3 separate regions of the Homo sapiens genome follow, and regions 1 and 3 are each linked to region 2. Evidence: promoter capture Hi-C in 16 types of primary human blood cells and fetal thymus (Javierre and others, 2016). All regions are on one chromosome and are shown on one strand. Each heading gives the region's core, a stretch centred on a gene start or on the middle of the fragment in contact. The rest is flanking DNA. Distances are from core to core; before and after follow the strand shown.

Region 1 (2,968 bases), core at 135-2,634, 59 kb after region 2:
TGGGGACAGCTCTGGCTCTGCTAGCTTCTGACCCCTGTACTATCTCTTGTGGCTTCTCTACATGCTGGCTCCATTGTGGTAATGAGTCCCTTTGTCAATTAGCCCCTTTCCAAGTATCCTAACTTGGGTATGCTATTTCCTGCTGGGACCCTGACTGAGACAGTGCAGCTGGGGCTCCATCTCCCTGGTTTTATGGAGTGTGGGAGTCAGGGTAGAAGTGTAGAACTTTAGATGGTAGGTGTAAGTTTCCTGAGGGCCAGAACTCTCCAAGGGGGTGATCCACATATTCTGAACGGTGAGATGAGAGAGTGCTTTAGGGTCTCTATGTCAGGGACCAGGATCCAGCCTTCATTCTCTGAAGGGCCATGCATGCTGCCTCTGTTGAAATCTAGTATGGTGCTTTGGCACCATTGATGTCTCTTGATGTCCAGAGGCTCATCCAGAGTGAGGTATAACTTGCCTGGCAAAGCCTCCTGGAGGGCTGAAATATGGATGGACACAGAAAGGGTTCCATGGCCCCATTACCTCCCCAGAACGGGGTGTGGACAAAAGTGTTCCAAGTTGCAGAATTAGAATAAAATTCCATGAAACCCACAATGTGCATTGAAGAACATACATCCATGTTTCAATTTCAAAATAGTTCTCACTCTTCCCTGATGTCTTAGTTTGTGTTGCTATAAAGAAACACCTGAGGCTGGGTCATTTATGAAGGAAAGAGGTTTATTTGGCTCATGGTTCTGCAGGCTGTACAAGAAGTGTGGTGCCAGCATCTGCTTCTGGTGAGGGCCTCAGGAAGCTTCCAATCACGGCAAAAGGTGAAGGAGAGCAGGCATCACACAGCCAGAGAGGAAGGAAGAAGAGAGAGGAGGAGAGAGGTCCAAGCTCTTTTTTAACAATTGGTTATCATAGGAACCAATAGAGTGAGAACTCATTCATTACCGAGAAGATGGTACCAAGACATTCAATGAGGGATCTGCCCCCATGACCCATGATCTGAACACCTCCCACCAGGCTCCACCTCCAACACTGAGGATCAAATTGCAACATGAGGTTTGGTGGGAGCAAATATACAAACCATATCACCTGACAAACTACAAACAATGACTCACGGCCCCATTCAGATGCCCTGTGCTCATCAGTGTTTCTGTTGTCTGGAATGTGATGCCAAAGAAGTTGGCCCCAACTCCAGACTCAGATGACTGTCCAGCTGACTCACCAGCCTGAGAAAAGGAAACAGAAGAGGAGAACCCAGATTTGAGGCCAGGGGATGGAACATGGAGAAACACGACAAAGGAGAAGCTTAAAGCAGAACAGACAGTGGCCAAGGAGAAGTCTCTGAATTGGAAGGAGAACACCACCATTTTCTTCAAAATATTTCATTGATGAGTATTTTTCTGGTAATAGAAGTCATACATGGTCCTTGGTAGGAAATATGGAAAATACAGGATCTGATCATTGTAGAAAGCTTAGTAAATACAAGGTTTCATGGTAGTCAAGGTGAGAGATGATAAGGACCCTGTTATGGATTGAGCTGTGTTTCCCTGACCCAAATTGGTATGTTTAAGTCCTAACTCCTAGTACCTAAGAATGTGACTGTATTTGGACATAGGTCTTTAAAGATGTAATTAAATTAAAATGAGGTCATTGGGGTGGGCCCTTAATATGACTAGTGTCCTTATAAGAGGAAGAGATTAGGACACAGACACACACAGAGGGGAGACCATGTGAAGACACATGGAGAAGACGGCCATCCACAAGCCAAGGAGAGAGGCCTCAGAAGAAACCAACCCTGCTGACACCTTCATCTCAGGCTTCCAGCCTCCAGAATTGTGAGACAATACATTTCTGCTGTTTAAGCCACCCGGTCTGTGCTACTTTGTCATGGCAGCCCTAGCAGACAAATGCAGACTCCAACCTTGGGCAGTGGCAGACTCCCCTCATGGAGAAGAGGGGAGGGATGGAAGACATTTTTAGGAGGTGAAATTGGCAAACTTTGATGAATGGCTCCGTATAGACAAGTGAGGGTGCAGAGTAGTGGAGGACTTTGTTAGTTTTCTAAGCCTGAGCAGCTGGACGGATGAGGGTGCCCCATCTCATCAACTGTGATGGAGAATCCAAGAGGAAGAGTTTCTGTTTGGATGAGTTGAAGGGGAGACACAGGAGGAGCACCCAGTGGGGATGCCCGTTCTCTGGTTGATCTAGTCCAGGGCTTCAAGCCAAGGGCTGAAGGGAGGCACAAGGGCACATCAGTGCAAGCGGAAAGCATACTGCGAGTAGAGGAGGGTGGCAGAGGACAGACCCCCGGGGAGGCGCACATTTATTTTCTTGGAGAAAGGAACCATCATGTATTGTGCTGATGATCGCATTGCAGCTGTTCACATTTATTAGGTTGATTCCGAAATATTGTCTGCCTCCCCTAATTTCTCTTTCAACCCATTGTTTAAAAATTCCCAAGATAGGCACAGACAGACTACTCCCCAAATGCTAAATTGGTCAAATTAGGGGGAAGGCTGTCTCTTTAACCTACCCCTGTGATTATTTGGTACACATGGTGCTTAGCATGCTGGCTTCCAGGAGCCACCATATGGGCAGGTAAGTGCGGAGCTGGATGGTCAAACAATGGGCTGTTTTGCTTTTAGCAATACGCGTTCTTACTTTTGTGTACCCCCCCTGGCCTCCTTTCTTTAAGATTATTTTAATTGGAAAAATGCACATCAATGTGTGTTAGAAATGTGTGGGACTGGAAACAATAGTCTCTCCTAATGATGTGAATAATGTGATTTTTGTTATCATATTAATGCCAGCATATCTTGCCGGATTACTATGTATCAGGCACTATGCTGTATCATTTCTCTTAGGATATATAGTTTTCCACGAAGACATACGATCCTTAAACTCTGGAGAATACAAAATTGAAAATTAGCTTTCTGTTTAAGAGTGCAGGCTCTGGATTGAGGTTGCCTGAGTT
Region 2 (3,034 bases), core at 322-2,821:
ACCCACCGCACCCCGACGCCGACCACCTGTCCGCCGAGGGTCCGTCCGTCTGCCACGTCCCAGACCGTCTGCACCGCCTAACTGGTCTTTTTCTGCCTCTTGAGTTCCGGCAGCCTCCTTTGATAGGACCTGGCCGGCGGGAACAAGGGCGCCCGTGGCCTCTGGCGGAGGAGAAGGAAAAGAACCACCCCTCCGCCCCCGCCACTGCTCGAGCGCAGCCCCTAGTACTGGGAGCCGGCGTGCTCCGCTCCGGGGAGGTAGCGCTCGGGGATGGCCTCTCGCTGCACCCGGGGCGCGCCAACCACGGCAAGGCGCCCTAAGTTCTACATCGGCCCCGCGAAGCGCGCAACTCCAGGGACAAGGAGAGAGATGTGCTGGGTGAGAGCGAGCACTTTCTGCCTAAAGCCGCTGGAACCGACCCAGAACCCCAAACTGCCCCGAGGCGCCATCGAACATCCGCTCTGGTCACTTTAACGTCCCAGGGGTGGGGGCGGGGAAGGGGGTGCCCGACAGTCCCTTCCTCTGGACTGGAAGGTTCGAAATGCTTTCCTTGCTCGGCCTCGCTCTCCCAGACGCAGGGAGCAGGGGCGCGGAGAAGCTGAGCGAAGGGAGGCCGGGCCGAGGTCGCGCCCCAGGCCCAGGCCCGCCCTCACTTGGAGAATTGCGCCTGCACGGCGGCCAGGCCCAGGCTGGCCGGGACCAGGTGCGGGAACTTGCACACGGCGCAGGTGCAGAGGCCGGGGCCGCCTGCGCCGCCGCCGGGGAGAGCGAACTGGCCGCACGGCGGCTCGTCCAGCGCCAGCGACAGGTACTTGGCGGGGCGCAGCGCGTCGGGGGGTCCTACGGCGCCGGGCGCCAGCAGCACGGAGCCGGGCGCGGCGGCGAGCAGGGGCAGCCCGGCCAGCAGCAGGCGCGGCGCGGCGGGCCCGGCGCCCTCGCCCAGCGCGCGGCGCAGCTCCTGCAGCGAGCTGCCCAGCAGTAGGATGTAGTTGCGGGCGAGCAGCAGCGTGGCTATCTTGGAGAGCTTGCGGCCGGGCGCGCCCTGGCAGTGCGCCGCTGAGTAGGGCAGGATGACCTCGCGCAGGGCGTCCATGGCCAGGTTCAGGTCCTGCATGCGCTTCCGCTCGCGGCTGTTGATCTTGCGCCGCAGCTGCTGCTGCTGCTCCTCCTTGGCGTCCGGCCGGGCGCTGCCGCCCGGGTGCGCGCCTGACCCGGGCCCGGGGCCTGGAGGCTCGGCCGGCGCCTCCGGCTTCTCGCGCGCAGCCTTGGGGAGGAGGGGGGCCGTCGTGGAGGAGGAGGAAGTGGAGGAGGTGGAGGAGGTGGAGGAGGAGGAGGAGGAGGGCGGCTGCCTGTAGCCCACCAGCTCGTAGAGGGAGGCCCCGAGCTGCAAGTCTCCGGGCCGCTGTGGCCGCAGCATGGTCCCGGGGACCGCGTTCACGCGCGCCTGGGAAACCGCATAGTACATCTGGGAGGCGGTGGGGGCGGCCGAGGACGCCCTTCAGGAACGCCCTGGGGTGGGCCGGTCGGCAGGCCGCCCCTCCCCGCGGACCTGCGCGCGGGGAAACGATGGTGGGGCCCTGGCCCGCGCCCTACCCCTTTAAACCCGGCTTGGGAACCTGCGGGGCAGCGGGTGGCGGGGCGCAGCCAATGGAGGCGCGAGGCCGGGCGCAGCCGCGTGTTCATTGGCTGCTTGTGCCGGGGCCGCGCGGAGGTGCGGCTGGCACCGCTTTAGGAGGTTATTGTGAGCGCCTGTGCCAGCCGCGCGGGACAGGCCCCCTGAGCGGAGTAAGGGCGCCTTTTCAAGGCAAGCGGGGCTGTTGAAGGAGGACTGGTCGCACTGGTCAGGCTGCAACTCACGTGCCTTCCTCCAGCAACTGTCTACTCAAAAACAACCTCCCTCATATTTTTTTTTAACTGTGATCACATATTCATAACATAAAATTTACCGTCTTATGTTTAGAGTACTGTTCAGTAATGTTATATGCATTAGTGTGCACATTAAATTGATTTAAATTAAATTCACATTGTTGTGCAACCCATCTCCAGAACTCTTTTCAACTTGCAACCCTGAAGCTCCACCCATTAAACAACTCCCCACTCCCCCCGACCCAAGTTCCTGGAATTCACTCTTCTGTTCTGTCTCTATGAATTTGTTCTACTCTAGGTCCCTCATATAAGTAGAATCATACAGCACTTGTCTTTTAGTGACTGGCTTCTTTCACTTAGCATATTGTCGTCAAGGTTTATCCATGTTGTAGCATGTATCAAAGTTTCTTCCTTTTCAAGGCTGAATAATATTCCAGTATATGGATATACCACATTTGGTTTATCCATTCATTCGTTGATGGACATTTGGGGTGCTTTTGGTTGTTGCGAATTATGCTGCTATGAACATGAGTGTATCATGTTTTTTTTTTCTTAAAATACATAATTTCCTGCCAGGTTCAGGTCGCTAAATTTCTGGACTAAATGACAAGTAGCATTAGGATATTTCCTCCCTGCTGCTCCCAACCTCCTTCCCCATCCCTCTGATTGAAAGGTCTTTAGGGACAAAGGAGCCTTTGGGTCGGGTTTCTATCCTCCCCGAAAGGGATGGTCTATCAGCAACTTGACATTTGCTTAAGCAAAAGTCACTCAGAAATTGGCCTCTTATTAGAAACAAAACAAAACACCCACATAGTCCTATCGGTTGAGGGTGGGAATGAATCATTTTATTTGCCAAATAGAATAGCATTACTTGGTGTCTATGGACATTTTCTGCCCCCAGCACCAGTGCATGCTACTATAACTTGTCAATGTCCTGGGGAAGAGGGCATCTTGGTGGCTGTGCTTGCTGGTTTCAGGGCTGCTTTGTTCTGGTTTTCTTCCACCAATATTTGCCACATGGGTTCACTCTGATCTTTGCTTCTGACCCCCAGCTCTGCCTGTAGCATCCTGCCTATGCCTCAGGTTCAGCTCCAACCTTGCTTTCTTCTGGAAGCCTTGGTGATTTCTCCTCTTCCTCCTTTCATGACTCTTGGCAAACCATTGATAG
Region 3 (3,045 bases), core at 303-2,802, 36 kb after region 2:
GAACTGAGATCGTGCCACTGCACACTCCAGCCTGGGTGACAGAGTGAGACTCCATCTAAAAAAAAAAAAAAAAAAAAAAAAAAAAGACCCAGGTCTGTTTTCCATGTAGAGCATGGGCCCTCCTCGTCCACAATGCAATGCAAAGGATATTCCCAGAGAACTAACCGTGCATCATGCTCAGTACCAGGCACCCCAGGGCATGCAAAGGTGAGAACAGAGGCCTTGCCTTGCGTTGGGGGGGTTTGGGAAGTGGAACCTGTACAGAGCTCAGGGACAGTGCTGAGTTGTTCCTTGGCGCCCCGAGGCATACAGACCCCTTGTGATGCTGCAGGACAGATCATGTCACCCAGAGTAACAGAGACCATACCTTGTAGGACCTCCCAGAAGATTCAATGGGATGACACTCATGCAGTCAGGCACCTTCTTCTGCTTAATTGGATATGCGTGGTGTGCCAGGTTCTCCCTCTCAGGCCAGATGGCCTGTGAAGATGGTACTAGCATCACCCCTACTTTACAGATAAGGAAGCCAAGGCTAAGAAAGCTCATGTCTCTTGTCCAAGGTCACTCAGCTGGCAGAGCTTGGCCAAGGCAGCATACCACCCCACACCCAACTGCCTCTTCATGGTCTCCATGGTGACTGCCCCACTATGACCTACAGATTCCTGGCTGCTTGGGTTGGGGGAGCCTCAGCTGTGGGAGTCCACACCCAGCAGCAGCTGCACTCTGGGCAGGTCCTTGGGCCCAGGGCATCCATTCACTGCTGGCACCATGCAGAGGGCGACTCCTGGGATGTTTCATTTAATCCTCACAGCAGCACAGTTGTCAGGTGCTACTATTAATTACTCTATTTACATAAGAAGAGAGGATCAGGAAGGTCTCGTAACCTGGATCACTGTAGTATAGGGCTTTGGTCTGAATCCAGCTGCCTTGGATAGAATCAAAGTGCTCACCATCCTTTAGGCCTCAGTATCCCCCATCAATGAAGGATTCAGGACTTTTACACTTCCACCTTGTTCCCCACACTCTCCAAACCTCCTGACTTGCACTGTGCCACTCGTTCATTCGTTCATTCATTTTTTTGTGAGTCCTTATATCTAGCAGGTACCCTGAAGGTACAAGGATGTCCAAACCACAGTTTCCACCCTAGGGAAGCCCCACAACCAAGGACAACTCCTTTCTAGAACTGTCTAAACTCCGCTTCAGCAGAGGCCAGTGAATTCTCTTAGTGCACGGAGGACACACGGAGGAGGGCTGTTCTCACCCATCACAGCCTCCCTGCCAGCAGGGGCTCCCAGGACCTCTGCTCTGAGGTGGACCAGGACACCCAGAGGGCTCGGGTATTGGGGCAGAGCCTGATTGGCCCACGGAGCTTCCAAGATCACCCATTATGGCTCTATTCTACAGTTGAAACATGTTCAGAGTTTCAAAGAGGCCACTCCAGCCCTGTTCTGAAAAACAAGCTTCTACTGCCAAATCTGAGGATGAAGGAGAGAGAATTGCTCGTGGTCCTGTTTGGACTGCACTGCACCTGTGGCCCTTGCTCTGGGCTCCAGAACTTTTGCCTAGAAAGCAGAGGTGTCTGAGAGCCGGGCTGGTCTGGGAGGGAGGCAGAGGAAAAGGTGAGGCCAGGCATACAAAGCTTAAAAGATCCCCAGCTCTCAGGTCAGCCAGGGTAGGGATGGTAAACCAGGATGCTTGCGGTCCAAGGACACCGGGTCACAGGGCCTCCAGGACTCAGCAGGGCTCAGTAGGGCTCAGGAGGGCCGGAGGGAGGCGGTCCAGAGAGGCCGCTGCTTTGCAGTTCTAGGCCCTTGCGTGTGCAAGCACCGGTGTGCGTGGATCTGTGAGCGCGAACTCAGGTGCGTGAGTCCCCTGTGCGAGAGCCTGTGCACGTGGACTCAGGTGTTTGGAGCTGATGTGCAAAAGCCCGTAGCGGGTCTGTGATTTTGGGCTCGGGTGCATGGACCTGGGTGCTCCTTGGGAGGCTGTTTGGGCCCCATGCGCATGTAGGCGGTTCTGGAGAGCTCTGCGTGTCTCCTTCTTGGGGGACCTCCAACCGTTCCCACAACCAGTGGACGGATTGTGGCCGCACCGACGCTGCAATGTCGCCAAAGGAAAACTGCGCGCGTCCAAGCCAGCTGCTTCAATCCTGGCGGATGCGGGCCGTGCCGGGGTCTCCAGCCGGTGGGGTGGGCCTGCGCGTCTCCCGTTAGCCTGTGCGGGGTCGGGGAAGCGAGGGCCGGAGAGGACACCAGCGCGCAGTTCAGAGCGGGTTCCTTAAGCAGTCTTCCCCCAGAGCTGCAACGTGGCTGCCCGAGGACCCCAAATAAAGACGCGGCCTCCTCACCCAGAGCCCTGCCAGATCGTCCTGGTGGACCGCGCCCGCTTTCAGGGTTTGCAAACTGAAGGCCCGCTCGCGTGTCTGCAGGGCCCTCGGTGTGCTGTAAAGGAGGGTCTGAGGTCCCCCTGGCAGGAGAGCGCGCACTCGCAGCAGCCGCGGGACTGGCGCAGGTATCATCCTGGTTCCTGCAGGCCTTTCAGTTGGCGACCCTTTTCCTAGTGACTGCCCGAGGTGTGGAAGGCACAACGGGGCAGGGGATGTGGCCCGGGATTCCGGCTGCGGCCCTAGGCCGGCAGGAGCGGCAGCTGTCTTGGCACTAACGACGGTCCCTCGCGGGGCGTGCGGGCCGCCCTAATGAGGCTCCGCCGCGGCTCACCTGCTCCGGCCCTTCCTCCGCCCGCGCCGCGCGCCCACCCGCGCCCGCTAATTGCTAAAGCCTGTGAGCCCCGCCCGCCGCCCAGATGGGGGAGTCGGGGACAGATGGGGTCCAGGCATGGGGGGAAGCACTAGGAGCGCCACCTAAGGGGGCCGGGGTGGGGGACAGGGGGTGGCAGCAGAGGATTCCCGGGGCGGCAGCTGAGCCAGAGTCTGGGGACTGCTGGAGTGCGGGCCAGGTGGCCTCTTGGGGTGGGCCCTGGATTACAACAACCTTGCCACCTTCATTTACTGGCTGTGTCCCCTGAGCAAGTCACTTAGCCTTTCTG

Evidence for each region. The method cuts DNA at HindIII sites, captures the fragments that hold promoters and counts their contacts. A CHiCAGO score of 5 or more calls a contact.
Region 1: a contact is called between a fragment that was not itself captured here and the fragment with the promoter of OLIG1 in region 2, in 3 of 17 cell types (M1 macrophages, M0 macrophages and monocytes). The highest score is 5.5, in M1 macrophages.
Region 3: a contact is called between a fragment that was not itself captured here and the fragment with the promoter of OLIG1 in region 2, in 2 of 17 cell types (M1 macrophages and megakaryocytes). The highest score is 5.8, in M1 macrophages.

What each region holds. Positions count from the first base shown.
Region 1 is chr21:33,009,821-33,012,788 of GRCh38, reverse strand. No RefSeq gene overlaps it. Among named protein-coding and RNA genes, the nearest start is that of OLIG2, 15 kb to the left of the region's middle. The HindIII fragment of the contact is 166 bases long and covers 1,302-1,467 here.
Region 2 is chr21:33,068,678-33,071,711 of GRCh38, reverse strand. It overlaps OLIG1 (oligodendrocyte transcription factor 1), which reads right to left and starts at 1,571. Exons shown (of 1, transcript NM_138983.3): 1 at 1-1,571. The coding sequence starts at 1,465. The coding sequence ends at 650. The HindIII fragment of the contact is 4,947 bases long and covers 1-3,034 here.
Region 3 is chr21:33,032,950-33,035,994 of GRCh38, reverse strand. No RefSeq gene overlaps it. Among named protein-coding and RNA genes, the nearest start is that of OLIG2, 8.5 kb to the right of the region's middle. RefSeq lists enhancers at 1-30, 1,629-2,296, 2,297-2,965. The HindIII fragment of the contact is 179 bases long and covers 1,463-1,641 here.